Regions from separate parts of the Homo sapiens genome. Here all the other regions are linked to region 1. The links are contacts of gene promoters, found by promoter capture Hi-C in blood cells and fetal thymus (Javierre and others, 2016). All regions are on one chromosome and are shown on one strand. Each heading gives the region's core, a stretch centred on a gene start or on the middle of the fragment in contact. The rest is flanking DNA. Distances are from core to core; before and after follow the strand shown. Region 1 holds the start of MTIF3 (mitochondrial translational initiation factor 3). Region 2 holds the start of SPATA13-AS1 (SPATA13 antisense RNA 1). Region 3 holds the start of HSPH1 (heat shock protein family H (Hsp110) member 1). Region 4 holds the start of USPL1 (ubiquitin specific peptidase like 1).

Region 1 (2,700 bases), core at 121-2,620:
TCTCTCACTACTTCAGTCTAGCAATGCAAGGAACATTTAAAGTTTGCCTGGGTTTGGGGTTTTTTGGCTTTTTTATTCTTGATTCTGCTACTAGTTGTGCGACCTTGGGCAAATTTGTTTCAGTTCCCTCATCTGTAAAATGGGTAATAATAATAATTGGCTCATAAGGTTGTCCTGAAGATTGAATAACTTGAGATATGTTCAGTGCGTAGAACAGTGTCTGGCACATAGGCAAAAGCAATCACAAATGTGGGCAATTATAATTGCTGAGCACCTAACTTTTCCCAGGTATTGTGCTACTCAGTCTGTCCCCGAATCTACGTCACACAAAATATCTTGGCATTGAGAAATAATTTTGATAGAATAAAATGAATCCTTAATTCTTCTTGATTAACTTGGAAATGGCCAAGATGCACACCTGGACTTTCGGTCTCACACAAGAGTTGTTTCATTACCTCCCTATTTTAACAGTGAGCGTCGAGCTACCAGCAGCTAAAAAGGAAATGGAGATTTCGTCTTTGCTCCCAAAGAACTATTTAAAGCTTTAGTAGTTGTGTCATCTGTAATAAAAGACGTAATGCTGACTCAAGGAGTTAATGAGAAATAAGACAACGCCTTCCAGTGGACAAGTAGCCAATAAATGTTAGTTTTTCTTCGTACCAGGAATCCAAACATTCCAGGTATGAAGCCAGATTAGGTGGCTTCACGACTGTGGACTCGCAGTCTGCCCTTGAGGAATTTCTTATTGAAGAAGAAAAAGAGGGGGGACACGGGGCCCAGACCCCCAGCACCCGGCTTTCGAGCAGGCTCCACGGGTCCGGGTCCGGGTCCGTTTTCCCTTTCGCCAGCTGGGGCCCCGTTCGAACCTCTCCCAACTACAACGCGGAGGCTCCGACGCCCCGGCCCCAGCTTTGTTTTGCCTCCGGGAGCCGCGCGCCACCGGGGACCCGCGGGGAGCCGTTCTCACTCCGAAGCTGTCTGCTCACCTGCAAATCGGAGACAGCGCCCTTTCACTTACGATCCTTATAAAAGACGCTTATAAAACATTTTATTCAGTGTTACATTAAAAAGACGTTTATGAAAGCAATTTATAAAGCCCTAGTGGGAGACCGAGATTGGTGTTAATGTAACTGGAGTAAGGGCTGCTCCGATTGCTGCAGAAATTCGACATTAGCCTTCACCGCACCTGCGGAGCAGCGGGAGCCAGGTGAGCAGCAATTTCCCCTCAGGGACTTCCTCCGCGTTCTCCGCATTTTCTGTCGGCGGAACTGAATCCCAACAGTAGAAAAACGTGGCTCCGCCCATCACCTTTCCTTTAAAGGACGCGGGGTGAAGCCCCGCCCACTACGGAGAGCGAAGGGGACTCGCCGCAGATCCGCTGTACTTGCGTCCGCTACAGTATGTCAATCGCTTGCCCCAGCACAGGTAATGCTAAATATGAGGCGTGCGGAGCGGTGCGCGGACCGGCATCGGGAGGGCGTGGCCTTAGGGGGCGCCCCTGTGGAGGAGGCACCCGGAAGGTCAGGGCTACCCCGTCCCGCCGGTACCGAGGGCGGAGAGGCTCCGCAGGTCCTGCTGCGGAGTCGGAGGGTTCTGCCGGGCTGTAAAGCCATTTTCAGCGAGGCCGCTGCACGAACTTCCGAGGGATGTTAGACCTAGAGTTGCCGCCAGCCCCACTGAGCTTTTCTAGTTCCGTCCCGACATGCGCGCCCTCGTTTGTGCGCACGCACGCACGCAGTACGTCGCTACGTCCCGTCTCTAGCCCTGGCGCTCCGCCGGTCCCGTTCTGCAGGTGGGCGTCGCCGCCGACTTACCAACAACCGGGTCGGGGGCTCCCGGAAGTGCTCTTGCGGCTTACTGCCTGGCACAGGTGGGGCAGAGCGAGCCAGGCGAAGGGCGCCTGCGCAGGACATGCTGGACAAATGCGTTGTTCTTGCTGCCTGCTGTTGCGGGAGGAGGCCTTATGGGGGAAGGTCGCGAAGTGACTGGGATTTTTTTTCTCATTTGTCATTTAGTGGGCTCCGTGGCTTAAGACTTGAACCAAGTAAACGAAGTTCTCTTACTGAGAAGTCTCAGTTTCAAGTACGTGTTGTGAAAGGCCTAAGTCTTAGAAAAGTAGAGGATGGAGAGAAGAATCTGAAAATCGACTACTATTCATTCTGTCAGGCACAACACAGTAACGAATAAGTCCATTTTGTTCCTGCTTCGTAGAGTTTACGGTCTAGTGATGGAGAACAGCAGTGCTAAGATCATCACAAAACTGTAATTGTAATGAATGTTTTAAAGGAAAGGTCAACTGGACTGTAGAAGCATTCAGTGTTAAGCTCAGTAAATTGGGGGAGGGATGGGAGAACTGGCTTAGTTTGGAAGGTAATCAGAAGAATGCGCTAAGGATCTGGCGTTTCCTAAACCAAGGACGAGAGTACTGTATTTCAAAAACCGAATGGCCAGTGTGGCCTAGGCATAAAGAAGAAACTGGAGAGGTGGGAAGGGCCTTTTGGCCTGGCGAAGGTGTAGATCTTTAATCTCGGGGCAGTTTTATTTAAGGTGAGGAAGGTCCTGGGTGTAGTGACCGCAGTGCAGTGGGAACTGGTTGCCAGGGCTCAAGCCGAGTTAGGAGACTGGCAGGAATCCAAACGAGGTGGTCGATGTTTTAAACTGACGGTGGTGACAGTGGATACGGAGAGGACTGGATGGATT
Region 2 (2,700 bases), core at 93-2,592, 3.2 Mb after region 1:
TAAAACCCTCAGTGCATAGAAAGGAAGGAGTTCCAGGACTGGGATGGAAATGCTAGAGATGGTCTATCATGTGAGTCTCACCACCCCTTGGGCTGCATCTCCCATGTGACAGCAGCTTTTATAATTAATGTACTGCTAATCTCTCTAGGCCAGAGATGCTGCTGAGAGATGGTTCCACTGCAATGCAAACCTGGTCCTCCATGGGGGTGGGACATCTGTCATGGGAAAAAGGTGGGCATAGTTACTATACCACACAGCAGGGCCAGCTTGGTCATCTGAATGGTTTGACCTGTGAAATCTCTGGTTGTGCTGTTAACTGATCTCGGGGTCCCCAGGAACAAAACAGATGAGTGATTCCACAAAGGTACCACAACATTGTGTAGGAGGAACTCTCCAGGGCTGGCAAGCAGAGCCCGACCTGAGCCACCATGACAGAGAAGACAAGGGAGGGCCCTCACTCAACTCCCAGACTCAGGCCTCTTGATGGAGCAGAGCCAGGGAGCCTCAGGGTAGGCATCCTACTACAAGTCTTCTTCCTAGCTTCTCAAAGAGAACTCCTACCATCAGCCTGGTGACTGTGTCCTCAGGACAGGGAAACTCCCGGCGGCAAATGTAAGCAATACTCTTCCCAAGCCTTTCTGAGTAGGAGAGATGGCTTTGGCAAGGCAAGGATTTAGCTCGTGCGCACTCCTGGTTAGGAGCTAATGGCCTGGCTGAATGGCCTGGAGGAATGTGGAAAGAACAAGATGGGCTGAGGATGGGTTTGGGGAAGGAGTATAACTGGCTACCTCAGAATACCCGCAGAGCATGAGATGATGTCCATCCTACATGAATCCTTATTGCAAGAGAGGCTAATCAATCATCATGTGGACATGCTGTCCCAATGTGCAGCTAGATGCCAGTCTTCCTTCCTAGTCATCTTGATACTTGCTCAGTGGGTTCATAAAAAGGAAAAAAAAAAAGAAGCAAGCAAGAAAAAGGCCATGGTGGCAAAAATGGATGCCAAGCCTGGGCTAAACCACAGGAAGTCTGGGCCTTCCCCTCAACAAAGCTGATGATACGGTTCCCCGCAGGAACCAGACAGCCCCTTGCGGAAAGCTGATTGCAGTGGGGCCTTTTCATAATAGAGGGGGTGGTGATTTGTCCCTACTGGAAGGGCCACTTATGCTGGGCTTGGATTTGTTTTCCTGCACTCTGTGGATCCTCTAGAAGGCCCCTATCCTGTCGCAGCATCTCACACGCCATCCAGGCCCAGAACGTCACAGAGAAGGAAGCACATGACCCCATCACACCCAATAACAACCAAATAAAAATGAAGTTACAGAGGCAGCTGGGAGACACACCCAGAAGTTGCCATACTGCCCTGGATGGGACGCAAGCTCTGAAGCAGTGACTAATTTGGAGAGGCTGGCCCACAGCAGAAGATGCAGGGCCGGAAACCAAGGGTAAACATAGAAGCGGCTTCTTAGGATTACTTAATAATATACTTGCAAAATGTTTTCTTCCCACCTAGGAACTCTGCTCTGTTGAAACTGAATTTAGTGCCCAAGGGAGAAGTACTTCCTCCAGAGTTCACAGTCCTGGCCACAGTGAATCAGAACCAAGGCTGGCCATTTTTGCCTCTTCGTACCACTGGGAAAATGAGCACCCACGGAAAATGGGGATGGCTTTTGTGGTCACTGCTACCATATTTCTCAAATGGACTAATGCAATCGCCTTCAAATCAATCTCCATTCCTCTTCCTTTCCCCCCACAAACTGCCCTCCCTCTCTAAGCATAAACCGGAACATAATATGCTCCTGCTGCCAATGGCTTCACACCACACTTAGAACAAGCTCAGCCTCCTCATGACCTGCAGAGCCCTTTCCAGCCTCAGCCCACCTCCCAGCCTGCAACATCCTCGTCTGCCTCTTGCTCCCTGAGCTCCTGTCACTGTGGCCTCCTTGCTGAACCTCAGACACATCATGTTTCCTGCCTGTCTTTGGGCTTCTGGTGCTCCTTCGGCTAGGACTTCTCCTCCCTCGGATCTCTGCCTCACTGCCTCCTACTCACCTGTCCCCAGCGTCACCTCCTTGGAGAGGAGGCTATCTCCCCCACCTGCTCCTACTCCTCACATTACCCAAAGTCATCTTCTGCAGGGCCGTCACTGGTGCCTTGGTGCATCCTACATATTGACTTATGGAATCTGTTCAAATGCTGAAATGTAAACTTTGCATGACGTTTTATTCTCCACAGCATCCCAAATTCTCTATTTCCTTCCTTTCCCTGCCTTGCCATTCTGGTAGGGATGTGTTGCTTAAATCTGCCTCTAGTTAATCAACGCTGAAGAGGCACTGCATGGAACTGGAGGACTAGTTATCCTAAGAGGTCCTAGACTTGGAGGTGTCTGCTGCCACTGATGAGGATCTGGGTGTCTCCTTCTAGGGAAGAGAGAGAGGGTTCATGGAACAGGTGCATCCTGTTCATTAGAGTGTCATTAGAATAACACTCTTTGGAAATGAATGCTCTCTATCCTGTTTTATTTTTCTTTATAGTACTGTCTGCTCTGTTAAATACTTACTTGGCCTGTCTTCACATATAGAAGGCAAGGGTCCCTGGAGACAGACACCCCACCCTTCTTCCTGTTCCAGTACCACCAGGTGGTGGACATATCACCTAAGCTCGGACAGCTGAATCTTCCATCCTGGGACCTGAACCCCT
Region 3 (2,700 bases), core at 62-2,561, 3.7 Mb before region 1:
CTGGGCCTTTCGTCTTGCCTCTGACTTAACCAACTTGTTTTGATAGACAAGGAGGAATTCCCATACTCTTTATGAGTTAGATTTTTCTAACTTTAGGTTACAACTCCTTATTCAATTACACGCTTATCCAATAACATATTTGAACTGTGCTTATACTTCCACATGCCTGACATAAGGTAAACTCAGGGATCAGAAGCAAACTTAAAAAGACACAAAAGGGTATAAAAGACCTGATAAGTTATCAGCAACACAGTTCCACCTTTTCTTACACTGTCTCTTTACTGAACAAAAGTTAACGGGGACATCGCTTCTGAGGGAAAGAAACAAAAGCTGCTTCAGATCAAACAAAAAGCAAAACTTACACACAGTACCAATTTATGGCTAGGAGTGGCAGGGTAGAACAGCGTCGGCTTAAATCAGACCTTTTAAAAATAAGCAGAAAGTGATACCGTGGACAGCCTGCCAAATGACGTCACAACTAAAAATCGATTTCTTAAAAAAAAAAACACCTGACATTTTACTCCACAAGAGATCATCCTGCTGCCTGATGAATACAAGAACACTTAACACAACCCCTTTGCTTTTATTATAAGCGGTTTGAACTGGTGTTCCTTCTCCTAAGTCGTAACGCACCAGTTGTCGGGGTAATCCAGACAATAATAGAAGTGAATACAAAACAAACGAACAAAATGACGCTTATTGCCAGGGAACCCGCGCAAAAGCGCCAGACAAAACCCTACCCAGCCTCTCTCGCGAGTCCCAGAAGACAAAGCCGGGTCCCAGCAAGCACTGCGGCCAGGACTACACATCCCAGCATGCAAGGCGCACACTTCTCCCAGCGGGACTACGATTCCCAACATGCTCTCCGGACAGCTGGCCGGCCTCCCCACCATCCCGGTGTCTGGGGTCTCTGCAAAAATGGGGTCTGTCTCCGCCCGCCCAGCCTCCCTTTAGCGTTAAGGATCGGACACCACCTCCCGGTAGTAAATTGTGACTATTCCGAGTTTTGGAGTCATTCTTCGTTGCCTGTTTTATTAGGGCAGCAAAACGCCTGTGGCTAGGGCGGGAGTGGGCGGAGGCAGGTTTGAGCCAATGGCACGGGAGCGGCCCTGTCGCTGCCATGGCAACGGCGGCCGTTCTCCGGGGACCGGCTGCCCATTGGGTAGAATCTTTCCAGAAGGCTCGAGAAGAAGGAAGCGGAAGTGGCACGTGGAGGGGCCGGTGGAGGCGCCGGTGAGTAAATGCCGCAGATTCTGGAAAGTTCTGATCAGTGCGATACATAAGGCTGAGGAAGTGGGACCTCCCCTTTTGGGTCGGTAGTTCAGCGCCGGCGCCGGTGTGCGAGCCGCGGCAGAGTGAGGCAGGCAACCCGAGGTGCGGAGCGACCTGCGGAGGCTGAGCCCCGCTTTCTCCCAGGGTTTCTTATCAGCCAGCCGCCGCTGTCCCCGGGGGAGTAGGAGGCTCCTGACAGGCCGCGGCTGTCTGTGTGTCCTTCTGAGTGTCAGAGGAACGGCCAGACCCCGCGGGCCGGAGCAGAACGCGGCCAGGGCAGAAAGCGGCGGCAGGAGAAGCAGGCAGGGGGCCGGAGGACGCAGACCGAGACCCGAGGCGGAGGCGGACCGCGAGCCGGCCATGTCGGTGGTGGGGTTGGACGTGGGCTCGCAGAGCTGCTACATCGCGGTAGCCCGGGCCGGGGGCATCGAGACCATCGCCAATGAGTTCAGCGACCGGTGCACCCCGTAAGTGGGAGTCTGCGAGGGTGGATGGGAGGAGGTTCTGGGCCCTTAGTGTGGGGACCCAAGATCGCGGGCTGGCTGTACGGATCACCGCGGCAAACGGAGGCGTTTGGGCAGCGGCGCACCCCTCCGTGGAACTAGGGACCAGCGACCCGGCCAGAGGAGGGATGGGGGGCTTGCCATCACAAATTGGAGAAGGGATTGTCTCAGGGATTCACGGGGGTGAGAGGAGTCCCAGAGTCGAGACTCTAAGGGTCGTCACCTTGTGCGGGCTTCCTATTGGGGGTTTTCAAAACCTACTGGGGGTCGGGCTGCGGCAAAGCCCGCAACTTCGCTCCCTTTTCTTGGCAGGCTGCAGCCTGCGCCTTCCGCGGCCGCCCCCGTATCCCCACCCGGCCTCTCTGAGCTGGCTGAGCCGCCTCCAGCTTGTCCTCCTCCCTTCGCGCATATCTTTGCGCACCGCGGAGCGGGGCTGCCGGCCTTTTTCTTCCGCATTGTGAATCTCGAAATGAACTGGAAGCTTCCAGAGCTTGTGTCGCTGCTTGTCCAGTGAGCAGGCGGATTGTTGTTAGCGACCACGGAAGCAGTCCTATGAAAGATTAGCCCACCTCTTTTTACCCAGTCTCTTCGTTGCTAACATTGTTGGCCTTAATGCCCGGGATCATTGTCGAAAGATGTAAACGTCTTTTTTTTTGCTCTTTGCCATTCATGAGGAATTGTAAACCGTATTTTTAAAATTAATTTTGCACAGTTTATTTAAAAGAGAATAAAAATTGCATACTTTTGTGCTAGGACGCCAAAAGAGGATGGATGTCGTCACTGAACTAAATATTCTATAGGAGCATAGGGTGGGCAAAGGGCAACATTTTAAAAAGCAAGTTTCGTGAAGGGATATTTTCGGACGAGAATATATACAAACATATCTGCATGTGCATTGATGAAAACAAATGATTTCATCTCAAGG
Region 4 (2,700 bases), core at 147-2,646, 3.2 Mb before region 1:
AAAAGAAAATTCATTTAATACCAGAGGTTTATTTGTCCATATGAGGGACATAAAAAAAATACCAGAGGTGGGCTCCCCAGTTCTTCTTCCAAATACAATTCACTTTGACTTACATACAAAATCCCGGGGGGGATTTTACAACTTAATTTGACCCTAAGTAACTGCTCTTCCTCCCTTCAAAAACAATCTGCTCCTCCTTCCCATATCTCACTTAAATGTGGGCGTCTCCATCCTTCCAAACACACAGACTAGAAAGTCTTGAGTTGTTCCCTATTCTTTATTTCCCTCTTCGCACAGTAAGTCACCAAATTCTGTGGACAGTTCTTTGGAAAGGTCTCAAATCTCTACCTCTTTCCCTTCCATATCACTGTCAAAATGATGCCTCTACAAGTCTGAGCCTGTCAATGCTTAGTTTAAAATTCTCTATTTACTCTAGCCTGATTACAGCAAACTCCGTCCAAACAGCCCAATATAACCTAAAGGTAGTATTATGACCTAAAGCTCATTGTACTGTGAAACCAACCTAGCTTTCCAGTTCTGTCTTCCTCAACTCTACTTCACCCCCAGCATCTTTCTTCTAACATCCCCTTTTCATACTTCTGTGAACCACTTATACTCCAGAAGCCTTAATGTGAATTATTAGCCCAGCATGAACCCAGTTAGATAGCACAATGAACGTGTCAAGGTGGCCCTGGGAATCGCAAAAAGTATTCAATTAAACTTAATTCACACTCCTGTGTGCAAAATGGAGAAACCCAGGGAAACAGCTGTTCGAAGAGGGGGCCTTAAACCCACCCATTTGAGCTCGCCCTCCGAGAGCGAGTAGGCTCGGCACGTGAACTGTCAAAAGCGAGGCCACAACCGACCTGGAAGCCGAGGAACAGGGTCAGCTTTCTGCACCCAGCCCTGTCAGGTACCAAACCCAACTGTCTTGAATCAGAGACGAACAGGACCAAAGGAGGTGAGTTTCAACACCCAAACTAAGAAGCCGAAGGAGGCGCAGGGTCCGTTAACCCTGCCCATCTCCACGCTCCTTGGAAAACGAAAACAAACTCTGGTTTCTCTTCAGCGTTCACCTCTCTGCGCCCAAACGGATCTGTAAGTCCAACTCTATACCTTAATCATCAACCTTTCCCACTTGAACCCCGTCCCAGCCCAGCCCATCCTTTCAGCGCGCCGACTACCCCATAGGTCATCCCAGCTCTGTCTCTTTTCCCAATTTCGAGAGCGGAAAGAAACCCCTCCCTCTTCTCCCTTACCTGCCGCGGGCACTCCCCTTCTTGGTACCGGGTCGATCGGAACTCCTGTTCCAGCTTGATCTCCACCCTAGTTGCAACGTTCAACCCACGTTCCCCTCGGACTGCTCCTCCCCCACTCGCGTCTCCACTAGGAAGGCGGCTTCCGGCTTGAGTCCGCGGCAAAAGAGTCCTCCTTCCTGCTGCACGCTGGGCCTGAAAGGACGGTGGCGTGGCGGGGAAGGTGAAGACGTGAGCACTTCCGGTCGCCCTCCGCAGAGGCGTGGCTGTCCGCCCTGTGGCCGCAGACGCAGTTGCGACTGCGGCGACGAGGAGGGGCGGGGCCGGTGGCTGCTGAGCCCGCCATGTGTGAGTGGCTGGGTTTGGGGAGGCGACGTTTCTGGAAGCTGCTGGAAAGCGCCCGAGTGGCGGAGGTGGCGCCAGCGGCCAGGGGGTGGGGCGTGATTAAAACTAGTGCGCGGCTTTCTGCGGAGGGATTACGCTGACGAAAGAGACCTGCTTGCGCGTCGCTGTTCCGTGGTCCGCGCGAGCGTGGTCGGGAGCCGCTGGTTCCTGGGGTGACCCGCGGAGGTGGGAGAGGGAAGGGCTTCCGAAGCCGGCGGGGGTGCCATGGACCCTCTCCGCCGGCGCGGCCTTCACAGCTGGGCCGCGCCGGGCATCCGTAGTCCGCTCTCCCAAAGCCTCGGTGGAGCTGAAGCTGCCACAGAGTGCATGTTCACAAAGGGTCATCACACACGGAGCTGCCCCTCCCTGTCTCCCTAGAGCCCATCTTCGAGGCCAGGGGCTTTTCTACCAGGATTCTGGGGTGTTTCTCCTCCTTTCCTCCCTCCCAGATCTTCTCACGGTAAGGGGAGCAGCGAAAGCGCAGGGACTTTGCATTCCACGACCCGTTCTGACTAGTCAACAGCCGATCTGTCCCTGCTGCTCTAATTCCAGCTGCCCTGCCTTGTTTTAACTTCAGAGAAAGGGGGAGTTCTCATTTGATAAGTTTAAGCCTTTGCTTTCGTAGGAAGGTCATGTGGCTTAAGGGACATCGTGACCGCGTATGCTATTTCTGCCTGTGCATTCTAAATCTTGGGGGCAGCATATTCCAGAAGTCCTTTTGGTCGATTGGTTCTGTGTCCTAGGATAACAATTTGTAGTTTCTGACCATTTCTTTACAGAAAAACCACAATTGGTATTTTGGACTGCGGGGTTTTTTAGTGGTCTCAAACTAAATGATTATATTCTGGAATAATGCTGACAATTTGGATAGGGTGGTGTGGAGGAAACAAGTCTCGTGTAGAAGAAATTATTTAGTAAAAAGGATTTTAGTTTTTGGTACTTCTGAATGCAAATGGCCAAGGAATCCAGCAGTTTGTTGGGGTTTCTCCAGACAAAAATAGGCTGGTTAGTTTGTTTACCTTTTTCTGTTGCTTTACTAGATTGTTAATGTATTTGTATA

What was found. The method cuts DNA at HindIII sites, captures the fragments that hold promoters and counts their contacts. A CHiCAGO score of 5 or more calls a contact.
Region 2: the fragment with the promoter of SPATA13-AS1 here is called in contact with the fragment with the promoter of MTIF3 in region 1 in 1 of 17 cell types (non-activated CD4 T cells); the score reaches 6.5 in non-activated CD4 T cells.
Region 3: a contact is called between the fragment with the promoter of HSPH1 here and the fragment with the promoter of MTIF3 in region 1, in 1 of 17 cell types (non-activated CD4 T cells). The highest score is 6.4, in non-activated CD4 T cells.
Region 4: the fragment with the promoter of USPL1 here is called in contact with the fragment with the promoter of MTIF3 in region 1 in 3 of 17 cell types (non-activated CD4 T cells, naive CD4 T cells and fetal thymus); the score reaches 6.5 in non-activated CD4 T cells.

What each region holds. Positions count from the first base shown.
Region 1 is chr13:27,449,234-27,451,933 of GRCh38, reverse strand. MTIF3 (mitochondrial translational initiation factor 3) reads left to right here and starts at 1,370. Exons shown (of 5, transcript NM_152912.5): 1 at 1,370-1,425. RefSeq lists enhancers at 936-995, 1,016-1,375, 1,219-2,133. The HindIII fragment of the contact is 2,682 bases long and covers 545-2,700 here.
Region 2 is chr13:24,253,081-24,255,780 of GRCh38, reverse strand. It overlaps SPATA13-AS1 (SPATA13 antisense RNA 1), which reads left to right and starts at 1,342. Exons shown (of 3, transcript NR_046531.1): 1 at 1,342-1,445; 2 at 2,582-2,700. The region is part of intron 4 of SPATA13 (spermatogenesis associated 13); the gene reads right to left. The HindIII fragment of the contact is 5,552 bases long and covers 1-2,700 here.
Region 3 is chr13:31,160,515-31,163,214 of GRCh38, reverse strand. It overlaps HSPH1 (heat shock protein family H (Hsp110) member 1), which reads left to right and starts at 1,311. Exons shown (of 18, transcript NM_006644.4): 1 at 1,311-1,739. The coding sequence starts at 1,633. It overlaps LOC105370148 (a long non-coding RNA gene), which reads right to left and starts at 555. Exons shown (of 3, transcript XR_941825.3): 1 at 1-555. RefSeq lists enhancers at 685-954, 1,185-1,304, 1,435-1,514, 1,126-1,671, 1,672-2,217. The HindIII fragment of the contact is 12,297 bases long and covers 1-2,258 here.
Region 4 is chr13:30,616,616-30,619,315 of GRCh38, reverse strand. USPL1 (ubiquitin specific peptidase like 1) reads right to left here and starts at 1,396. Exons shown (of 9, transcript NM_005800.5): 1 at 1,260-1,396. It also overlaps a transcript of HMGB1 not described here. RefSeq lists enhancers at 1,319-1,368, 1,389-1,718, 1,769-1,908, 1,929-1,998. The HindIII fragment of the contact is 4,577 bases long and covers 1-2,700 here.